Regions from separate parts of the Homo sapiens genome. Here region 1 is linked to region 2. Evidence: promoter capture Hi-C in human tissues and cell types (Jung and others, 2019). All regions are on one chromosome and are shown on one strand. The core of a region is centred on a gene start or on the middle of the fragment in contact, and the rest is flanking DNA. Distances in the headings are between cores, read along the strand shown.

Region 1 (5,112 bases), core at 1,961-4,460, 1.9 Mb after region 2:
CTTCCACTTTTGGAGAAGTCCTAAGAAGCAATCAAGAGCCTATGGACAGAAACAGAAGGAATTAATCCATCTGTCTTAAACAGGGGATTTTTTTTTTTAGTCAAGGTCTCTTTCTGACGCCCAGGCTGGTTGGAGCGCAGGATCTCGGCTCACTGCAACCAACCTCTGCCTCCCAGGTTCAAGTGATTCTCCTGCCTCAGTCTCCCGAGGAGCTGGGACTACAGGCGAGCACCACCACGCCTGGCTAATTTTTCTATTTTTAGTAGAGACAGGGTTTTGCCATGTTCTCAAACTTCTGACCTCAGGTGATCCACCCACCTCACCTCCAAAATGCTGGCATTACAGGCATGAGCCACCACGCCTGGTCATGTCCAGCTTTTTATTTCTTCTAGAGATGAGGGTCTTGCTATGTTGCCCAGGCTGGCCTTGAACTCGTGGTCTCAAACGATCCTCTTGCCTCAGCCTCTCACAGTGCTACAGGCGTGAGCCACTGCTCCCTACTAGGGGGTTCTATCTTGCTGCATACTATGAATCTTAATTGAATGAAGGTCCCATGTCTTTTTTTGACACAAGGTCTCGCTCTGTCACCCAGGCTGGATTGCAATGGCGTGATCTTGGCTCACTGCAACCTCCGCCTCCCGGGTTCAAGCGATTCTCCTGCGTTCAAGTGATTCTCCTGCCTCAGCTTCCAGAGTAGCTGAGATTACAGGCGTGCGTCACCACACCCGGCTAATTTTTTGTATTTTTAGTGGAGACAGGGTTTCCCCATGTTGGCCAGGCTGGTCGCAAATGCCTGACCTCAGGTGATCCGCCCACCTCAGCCTCCCAAAGTTCTGGGATTACAGATGTGAGCCACCACACCCGGCCATAGTTGGGAGTTTTGAAGAGTCAATGTCATATAAACCAAAAAGGGTGGATGATTGTTCCAAATTCAAAGAGAATGACAGGACAGCCAGATGAAATTTACCAGCCTTTACTGACTGCTGAATAAGGGAGGAAAGTGTGACATAAGTTACCCTTGGGACCCAGGCATTCTACTCCTAGGGATATGCCCAAGGGGAATAAAAACATGTTCGTGCTAAATATTTAAACAAAATGTTCGTAGAAGCGTTCATTATTCATAACAGCCAAACAGTGGAAACAACTCGAATGTCCTTTGCAGGGGAAAGAAAACTTTACCTCTCCCTCCTACGGTCTTCAGTGGGCTTGGGTATAAAACTACCATAAGAATGCCGGGCGCAGGGCTCACTCCTGTAATCCCAGCATTTTGGGAGGCCAAGGCGGGCGGATCACCTGAGGTCGGGAGTTTGAGACCAACCTGACCAACGTGGAGAAATCTTGTCTCTACTAAAAATACAAAATTAGCCGGGCATGGTGGTGCATGTCTGTAATCCCAGCTACTTGAGAGGCTGAGGCAGGAGAATCCCTTGAACCCAGGAGGCAGAGGTTGTTGCAATGACCCGAGATCACGCCATTGCACTCTGTCTAAAAAACAAACAAACAAAAACAAACAAACAAAAAAAAACTGGTATAAGAAGGCTCACGCCTGTAATCCCAGCATTTCGAGAGGCCGAGGCAGGTGGATCACCTGAGGTCAGGAGTTCAAGACCAGCCTGGCCAACATGGTGAAACCCCCGTCTCTACTAAAAATACAAAAAGTAGCCAGGCGCAGTGACACATGCCTGTAGTCCCAGCCACTCGGGAGGCTGAGGTGGGAGAATTGCTTGAACCTGGGAGGCGGAAGTTGCAGTGAGCCGAGATCACACCATTGCACTCCAGCCTGGTGGCAGAGAAGACTCTGTCTAAATAAATAAATAAATATGTTAAATTAAATAAAAATAAAAAGAGTCCAAACCTGCCCCACCAAATAACCCAATCCTCAAACCATTAGCTCACGCTAATGCCTCCACTTCCAGTCCAGCTCCACAGGGCTGGTGCCTACCTCTCCCTTTCCATATCTGTAACTCCCTCCCAGAAAAAAAAAGCAGTTCCAGTCCTCATCTCTGACTCCCACATGGCACCTCCCCCCGAGGCTGGTTCCAATGCCCCTCGTCGGGCACCCACCCCACACAGGTGTCCTCCTCCCATGCTGGGAGTGCAGGCTCCCTGTCACGTGTCCTGCTGGCCCTCACTGGGCACTTACGCGCAGCCTCTGCTGAGCGCTCCTCATCCTGCTCAGCCCTGACCCCCAAACACCTCTCCCAAGGACATCCCACCCCAATCAGCCCATTCAGGGCCACCATGACCTTGCTCAGCCCCACATAATAGCTTTAGGGCCCAATTGTTCAGCAAAGGAAGGAAAGGAAGGAAAGGAAGGAAAGGAAGGAAGAAGAAAAAGCTATGCATGTATTTTACTGTTTAAGCATTGAAATGTACAAGAATCACTAGGAAACTTACAAGAATTACTTGGATGAGTTTATAGAGCAATTGAAACACTGAAAAATGAATAACCTCTAAAATTATGCATTCAGTTTAAAATATTTAAGAGAGTTTAATTAACTAAGTTTATAAATGGAACTGAACACTAGAGAATAGACTTTTTCTTAGCGGTAATTGGATTGTTTTATTAATATTTACTATATTTATAAAAATAGAGTCGTGAGATTTCCAATGGGCATAAAAGCTTAAGAACAAAGTGAGTTTCTGGGGTTTTTTTGTTTTTGTTTTTGTTTTTTTGTTTGGTCTTTTTTTGATGGAGTCTTGCTCTGTCGCCCAGGCTCAAGTGCAGTGGTGCGATCACACACCACAACCTCCGTCTCCCGGGTTCAGGTGATTCTCCTGCTTCAGCCTCCCAAGTAGCTAGGATCACAGGTGTGTGCCACCACACCCAGCTAATATAGATATATATAATTTTTTGGTATTTTTAGTAGAGGCAGGGTTTCACTATGTTGGCCAGGCTGGTCTCAAATTCCTGACCTCAGGTGATCCACCGCCTTGGCCTCCCAAGGTGCTGGGATTACAGGGTGAACCACTGCGCCTGGCCAAGAACAAAGTGAGATTTCTTTCCTTTTTTTTTTTTTTTTTGAGAGGAAGTCTCGATCTTGTCCCCCAGGCTGGAGTGCAATGGCGTGATCTTGGCTCACTGCAACCTCTGCCTCCCAGGTTCAAGCGATTCTCCTGCCTCAGCCCCCCAAGTAGCTGGCATTACAGGTGCCTGCCACCATGCCCGGCTAATTTTTTCTATTTTTAGTAGAGACGGGGTTTCACCCTATTGGCCAGGCTGGTCTCGAACTCCTGACCTCAGGTGATCCGCCCGCCTCGGCCTCCCAAAGTGTTGGGATTATAGGCATGAGCCACCGTGCCCAGCCAAAGTGAGATTTCTAAGTGTCATTTTCATCATCAGAATGTTGATTTACAAAAAGCAGCCCCAGAATTACCTTCACTGTGTATAAAAAATAACCAAAATGTGACCAACAAATGACATTCATGGAGCCTGAATTTTAAATCTCTACAACCACCTAGTGTGCAATTAGCTACTTTTCATCTAAATTATTTCCTAAAAGAGGCATAAAGTAAGAAAAATCAGTCTACTCCCTCTTCTTTATTTTGAGACAAAAGAACCTCGGTGGCTAGTCAATGCTCAGCAGTGGCCAGGCCCAGTGGCTCATGCCTGTAATCCCAGCACTTTGGGAGGCTAAGGCAGGCAGATCGCTTGACTCCAGGAGTTCAACACCAGCCTAGGCAACATCGTAAAACCCTCTCTCTACAAAAAATACACAATTAGCCAGGCATGGTGGCGTGTGTCTGTAGCCCCAGCTACTCGGGAGGCTGAGGTGGTGAGCCCAGGAGGTTTAAGCTTGGAAGATTGAGGCTGCAGTGAGCGGAGACTGCACCACTGCACTCCAGCCTGGGTGACAGAGTGAGACCCCCATCTCAAAAACAAAACAAAACAAAACAAAACAAAAAAATGGTCAGGAGTGACACTGGCCAGTGGCTTCCTGGAACTAGAAGAGAGGCCACTATTTCCTGGACACCAGGAAACTTAATTGAGGAGGTGGTTAGATAGGTCTCCACAGTTCTCAAAATCAGTGAACTATACCTTTAATATCTGCATCTTTTATTTTATGGGAAGGATACCTTGATAGAAAGACTATTGAGAAATATATACATTTATTATTATTATTATTATTATTATTATTATTATATATACTTTTTGAGACAGAGTCTTGTTCTTTTTGCCCAGGCTAAAGCGCAATGGAGCTATCTTGGCTCACTACAATTTCTGCCTCCTGGGTTCAAGCAATTCTCCTGCCTCGGCCTCTCGAGTAGCTGGGAATGCAGGTGTGCACCACCACACCCGGCCTACATTAACTATTTAAAATTGAAAAAAGGTGACCAGGTGCGTTGGTTCACACTTGCAATCACAGCACTTTGGGAGGCTGAGGCAGGTGGATCACCTGAGGTCAGGAGTTCAAGGCCAGTCTGGCCAACATGGTGAAACCCCGTCTCTACTAAAAATACAAAAAGTAGCCAGGCGTGGTGGCAGGCACCTGAAATCCCAGCTACTTGGGAGGCTGAGGCAGGAGAATCACTTGAACCTGGAAGGCAGAGGTTGCAGTGAGCCAAGATCAAACCACTGCACTCCTGCCTGGGCAACAGAGCGAGACTCTGTCTCAAAAAACGAGAAAGAAAAAGAAAAAAGGCTCACGAAAATATTATTTCAGGCCAGGCGCAGTGGCTCACACCTGTAATCCCAACACTTTGGGAGGCCGAGGAGGGCAGATCACGAGGTCAGGAGTTCGAGACCAGCCTGACCAACATGGCGAAACCCTGTCTCTACTAAAAATACAAAAATTAGGCCAGGCGCGGTGGCTTATGCCTGTAATCCCAGCACTTTGGGAGGCCGAGGCGGGCGGATCATGAGGTCAGGAGACCGAGACCATCCTGGCTAATACAGTGAAACCCCGTCTCTACCAAAAATGCAAAAAATTAGCTGGGCGTGGTGGCGGGAGCCTGTAGTCCCAGCTACTCAGGAGGCTGAGGCAGGAGAATGGCGTGAACCAGGGAGGCGGAGCTTGCAGTGAGCCGAAATGGTGCCACTGCACTCCAGCCTGGGCGGCAGAGCAAGACTCTGTCTCAAAAAAAACCAAAAACAAACAAACAAAAAAATTA
Region 2 (5,591 bases), core at 2,556-5,055:
GGACAGGATGGTGAGAAGGAAGGAAGGAGGAAAGGGAGAAAGGAAGCTGAGCCTTTACGGTCAGAGAGGATTTCAAAATTAAGGGAGAAGGAAGCACGGGTATGCTGGGCAGTGGGAACGGCTTGAGCAATGCGTGGAGGCAGGACAACAGAAGAGTGTTCAAGGAACAGTGTGTACTCAGGCCTAGTTACAGCAGAGGGGGTCAGGAGGAGGGAAGGAAGTCGATTCTGGGAAGGCGCCTGGAGACCGGAGGCTCCAAACGCAGCACTGAGCCCCTGACTGCTCTCAGAGAGGGCACCTGAGCAGACAAAGCTGGGCCATGGAGGCAGATTCTGGAAGGATGAGAAAAAAACTGGAGATAGGGAGGCCTGGGAGGGAGACAAGTTAGGAACAGATCTACACACTGGAGGGTTTAAACGATGGGTTTGAAACTCAGCCAGAACTGAGTTAGAATCCTGGCTCTGACTTGACGTGGCCAACCCTAAGCAAAGAATCTCTCACCTCTCTATGCCTCAGCTTCCCCATCTGTTGTTTTTGTTTTTTTTTTTTTGAGACCGAGTCTTGCTCTGTCACCCAGGCTGGAGTGCAGTGGTGCAATCTCGGCTCACTGCAACCTCCGCCTCCCACATTCAAGCGATTCTCCTGCCTCAGCCTCCCAAGTAGCTGGGATTACAGGTGCCCGCCATCACACGCCTGGCTAATTTTTGTATTTTAGTAGAGACAGGGTTTCATCATGTTGGCCAGGCTGGTCTTGAACTCCTGACCTTAGGTGATCCCCCTGCCTCGGCCTCCCAAAGTGCTGGGATTACAGGCTTGGGCCACTGAGCCTGGCCCCCATCTGTTGAATGGAGACAATCTCAGTGCTGTCATAAGGACTCAGAGTTAACACATACAAAGCCCTTAATTAAGATAGATGCTATTTTAAGATAAAAAATGACAGAAAAAAATTGACAAAAAAGACTAAAAAAAAAAAAGAAGAAAAAACTTAAAACAGTGTCTGGTGTACAGTAAGGATTAGAATTATTTGATCTGCATCTTGCAAGGTGATATCCTTGGACAAGTGACTTGAATTCTCTGTGCCTCAGTTTCCTCATCTGTAAAAGGGGATAATAATAGTATCTACCTCAGCCGGGTGCAGTGGCTCATGCTGGTAATTCCAGCACTTCGGGAGGCTGAGGCGGGTGGATCACTTGAGGTCAGGAGTCTTGAGGTCAGCCTGGCCAACATGATGAAACCCTGTCTCTACTCAAAATACAGAAATGAGCCAGGTGTGGTGGCGGGCACCTGGTGTCTCACCTACTCAGGAGGCTGAGGCAGGACAATCACTTGAACCCAGGAAGTGAAGGCTGCAGTGAGCCGAGATGGCACCACTGCACTCCAGCCTGGGCAACAGAGCGAGACTGTCTCAGAAAAAAAAAAAAAGTATCTACCTCATTAGGGTTGCTGCGAGGAGTGAGTGAGTTAATAAAAGCACAGCACTTAGCACAGGGCTAAACATGAGTGAGTGCTAATTGTTGTTGTTATTATTATTATTATTATTATTATTATTCACCCACTTCCAGCTCAGCTGTTCTGAGATGCCAAGGAAGTGAGAGGGCAGGCAGAGAGAAAAAAGCAATGGGGCCCAGGAGGGTCAGCCCCTGCACACAGGCACAGGCACGTCAAGGCAGGTCTGTCTCTCACAGCTAGGGCCACATGTGTGAACACGTCCCCAAGGAAGGCATGTGGGGTGAAGCGGGGCTCAGGGCAGACTCCAGCCAGGGGCCCCAGAGCAAAAAGAGGCCTCAGCAGGCAAGCTGGCAAGCTGATGGACTCCGGACTCGGCTCCCAGCCCCACGGCTCCCAGCCCCACGTGAGGCTCTCCAGTTTCACACCGGCCTCTGCTCTGTCCCGCCCTCCCTGAACCTGCCCGGCCGGTCCTCCTGATTCACCAGGGGAGAGCCACACCCAAGCTGGGGGTGACGGTGGACAAAGTAAACAAGAGTGTTCAGGGGGCTCCTTGGGGATGTAGGGGTCACAGGGGAGACCAGGTGGGCTCCCGGCTAGGCCAAGGATCCTTTGGCGTTTGGGGTCACACAGCCCTTTTGCGAATCTGATGCAAGCTGGGGGAATCGCTTTGCTCCCTAGAAAAATGTACATACAAATAGGCTAAGGGGTGGTGAAGGTTTGTGACCCTTTAAGACAGCCACAGGCCCCAGATTAAGAAATGTGGGGTAGAAAGTGCACCCTGCCTGTCTCCCTATCCCAGTGTTCTTCAGATTCCAGAGGATTAGACAGATGTCAGACCGTCGCTGCAACAATGTATGTGAACACGCACGGCAGGCTCCTTAGTCCTACAATTTCAGGGGTTCCTGGGCCCCATAAAGTCGGTCAGTGGCCCTCCATTGTAGACCCCCAGGAGTGGAGACAGTGCAGGAAGGGGAAAGGAGAGAATTAAGAAGGGGTGCCTGGAGTGAATTAGTAACCTGGCTGTCAGAGGGAGGAGGTCAGTGGATGGAAGAGGTTCCCGGAGATGAAATTGCTGGTGGGCAACTAACAGTAAATGGGTAGAGAACTTCCTAAGCAAAGGCGGAGGAATAAGGAGTTTTGCGTGATGTGGCTCAAGGGCAGGATGGGTCCCACTCACCCCAGACCTGTCCTCGGGATCGCTGGCACCTCCGCCCCCGGCCACCACGTCATCCTCAGACTCGTCGAAAGAAGAGGCAGAGGAGAAGCCGCCGCTGCCCCCCTCAACCCGGGAGGGGGGTCCCACTGGCTGGGCCTCAGGCTCAGGGGTCTCAGGGGTAATGATGAGGCGGGGCACAGGGCACAGGGGGCTACACTTCAGGTGAGAGTACAGGTGAGTCAGCAATTCTCCAGGCTCTGGTTCCTCTAATGGGCCATCCTCAGGCTCTCCCAAGAGGCAGTCTGTCCCAGGTGCTGTCTGGGAACCGTCAGTGCTAGGTTGTGTCCAGGAGCCATCAGTATCCTGTTGTATTTGGAAACCACCAGTGCCAGGCTGTTTCCTGGCTGCTTCAGTATCCTGTTTTTTCTGGGAGCCATCAGTATATGGCTCTGTCCAGGGACCTTCAATATCCTGTTGTGTCCTGGAGCCATCAGTATACAATTCTTTCCAGGAGCCATCAGCACTTGGCTCTTTTGAGGGACAGGCTCCTTCTGGGTGAGTCTGGAGGCTGGAACTGTTCTGGTGGGTCCAGAGGTTATCAGCCCAGGACTTGACCCTCTCTGGCTGAGTCTGTGACCCATGCGTTTCCAGCTCTGTCCAGGGCCCATGAACCCCTGGCTGTGTCCAGGGGCTGGCCTCCTCGGGCTGAAACTGGAGGTCGGACCTGTGCGGATCAGTCCAAAGGCCATCTGTCCCGGTCTCCGTCCAAAGACAAGTCGTCTCCAGCTCTGACCAGCTCCATTCTAGATGCGTCCGGAGGCTGGACCTGTCTGGCTCCGTCTTTTGCTTGGGCCTCTCGGTCTCTACTCCAAGGCCAGCTGCCGCGGGCTCAGTCTGTCCGTCTGTCCAGAATTCTGCCTGCGGACTCTCTGTCCCCGGCGCAGGCCCGAGGCCGGCCCTCTCAGGCTCGCTGTGGAGGCTGGACCCCTCTGTCCGGGCCCAGGGCCCGCCCCCCTCCGGCCGCCCCGCCGGGGCCCCTGCGCCGGGCCCAGGTCGCTGCTGTCCCGGCTGCCGCCGCCGCCCTCCTCGCGGCGCCTCCAGTCCCATGCGGGCCGCCGCGGGCAGCGCCCCGGCCTCCGCCTCGTTCAGGCTCCCACGGCACGGGCAGCGCCTCATGCCCGCTCCTTCGGTTCGGGCTTCGGCCGACCCGGCCCCTCCTATCCCTTTAAATCCCGCGAGGGGTGTGGCTGGGGAGCCCCGACTCCCGGGTTCCGGCCCGCGGAGCTCCAGCCCGCCCCGCCGCGCAAGGGTTAACCGATACTCCCCTCAAAGGGGAAAGCCCCGAAGCCCCGCCCCACCGGACGTGACGGAACGGAACGAGACGGAGCCTTGTCCGACTCCGCCTCCCAAGGGGAGGGGGTTTGCCTCTGAGCATCCGAAGCGCGGCCAGGTATGCATCTAGGGCACCGGGGTCCTGGTGGCGCGCCAGTGGGCCCCCTCCCTCCACCCCTGTGACTAAACCACCCTCCCTACACGGTTGAATGACAAGTTCAACCTTCCCTAAAACCCCCGGTGACGAGTCCAGCCGCGCGCCCATTCTTCACGCAGGGGCGGGACGGACTTTCAAAGACTTGGAGTTCCCACGGGTGTGGGTTCGAGACCTTCCTCTGCCAGTTCCCAGCTCCGCTACCCTGAGCAAATGACTTACGCTCCATTGGATTTTCCGTAAGAAATCTCTGTCATGTATAGAGTACTTGTTCTGTATCAGACCCTGACACGATTTCAGTTCATTCTCCAAGGCTGAACAATAGGGATGCCAGGGCTCCATTTTACACGTGAGAACAGAGGCTCAGAGATCTGCCGGCCTCTACCCTTTGCTTGCAGCTACGGGGCTATCTGACATGATCTCATGTATGTGAAGCATGTGGCCCCGGGCCTGGCACTGTCAGTTGTAGCCCAGTAGGATTATTTATTGTCCTAGGTGATTTTGATATATTTTGCCCCCAAGGCTGAGCTGCCACCCAGCTCCTGAGTCAGCCGTTCACCTCTGAAGGGGGAGAGGAGGTGGTTTGTCTTGAAATTGAGTCAACTGGGGGAGACATTGGGCACAGGTCCAAGGCTCTAAAATGAGTCACCTTTTCACAGACCAATGAGAGAAATCGAAGGCAGGAGCCCACCTAGTACCTCATACAGGTTGGGAAGGAGAAGTCCAGAGAGGGATGAGGGCTTTTCTGAGGTCACACAGTACGGGAATAGAGACAAAGAGGCCTGATTCCCGACAAGAGGGGTTGGGGCAGCGGGGTTCTGTGGGGGAAGCATCGGCATCCCTCCCTCTCCCAGTGGTGGGAAAGATGCCCCAACCAGATGCCTCTATTCCAGACTGTGAGAAGTGGGTGAGTCAGCCTGTTGTGGGGAGAGCAGGCTTTCCAACGCGCGCGCGCACACACACACACACACACACACACAGAGAAAGAAAGATAGGATGGGAGGTGGTTTTCTGGGATGCCAAGGTTCCTGACTCAGCACTGGGAATCTTGGCTGAGTGTGTTCTGGGAAATGTCAGGCCTACAGGAAGCAGAGGGCTCCCAGTCGCACCATTCCGCAGGTGGGCGGGGAGCGGAGAGAACAGGGTGTGTGAGGGAACAGAGACTCAGTGTGCAAGTGGGGGGGAGGGTATGTACACGAGAGAGTTGAAGGCGTGAGCGGGAAACAGTTGGCAAGCAAGGCAAGGGATTTATATGCACAAGGAAGGAGGTTGGGTGCCAGAATGTGGGTGTTTGTGCAAAGTGGAGGGGCTCCATGTGCAAGGGAAATGTTTGCTGGGAAGAATGTGTATTCAAAGGAATTGTGTTGAGCCTGCCAGGGGTAAAAATAAGAAGGGGGGTTGGCAAGATATTCGTGCAGAAGAGAGGCGTCAGGTTTGTAAGGGAGACTTTGCAAGAAAGTGTAGGGAACAGAAGGGTCTGTCGCGTACAAGGCACTTTGA

The links. Contacts are between HindIII fragments. The study calls those that stand out against the background at their distance.
Region 1: a contact is called between a fragment that was not itself captured here and the fragment with the promoter of ITPKC in region 2, in 1 of the 25 tissues and cell types used here (spleen).

What each region holds. Positions count from the first base shown.
Region 1 is chr19:38,775,959-38,781,070 of GRCh38, reverse strand. No RefSeq gene overlaps it. Among named protein-coding and RNA genes, the nearest start is that of LGALS7, 5.0 kb to the right of the region's middle. The HindIII fragment of the contact is 4,464 bases long and covers 979-5,112 here.
Region 2 is chr19:40,715,326-40,720,916 of GRCh38, reverse strand. It overlaps ITPKC (inositol-trisphosphate 3-kinase C), which reads right to left and starts at 3,805. Exons shown (of 7, transcript NM_025194.3): 1 at 2,627-3,805. The coding sequence starts at 3,781. COQ8B (coenzyme Q8B) reads left to right here and starts at 4,031. Exons shown (of 15, transcript NM_024876.4): 1 at 4,031-4,330. RefSeq lists enhancers at 1,280-1,981, 4,485-4,564 and silencers at 3,555-3,914, 5,235-5,284. The HindIII fragment of the contact is 31,130 bases long and covers 1-5,591 here.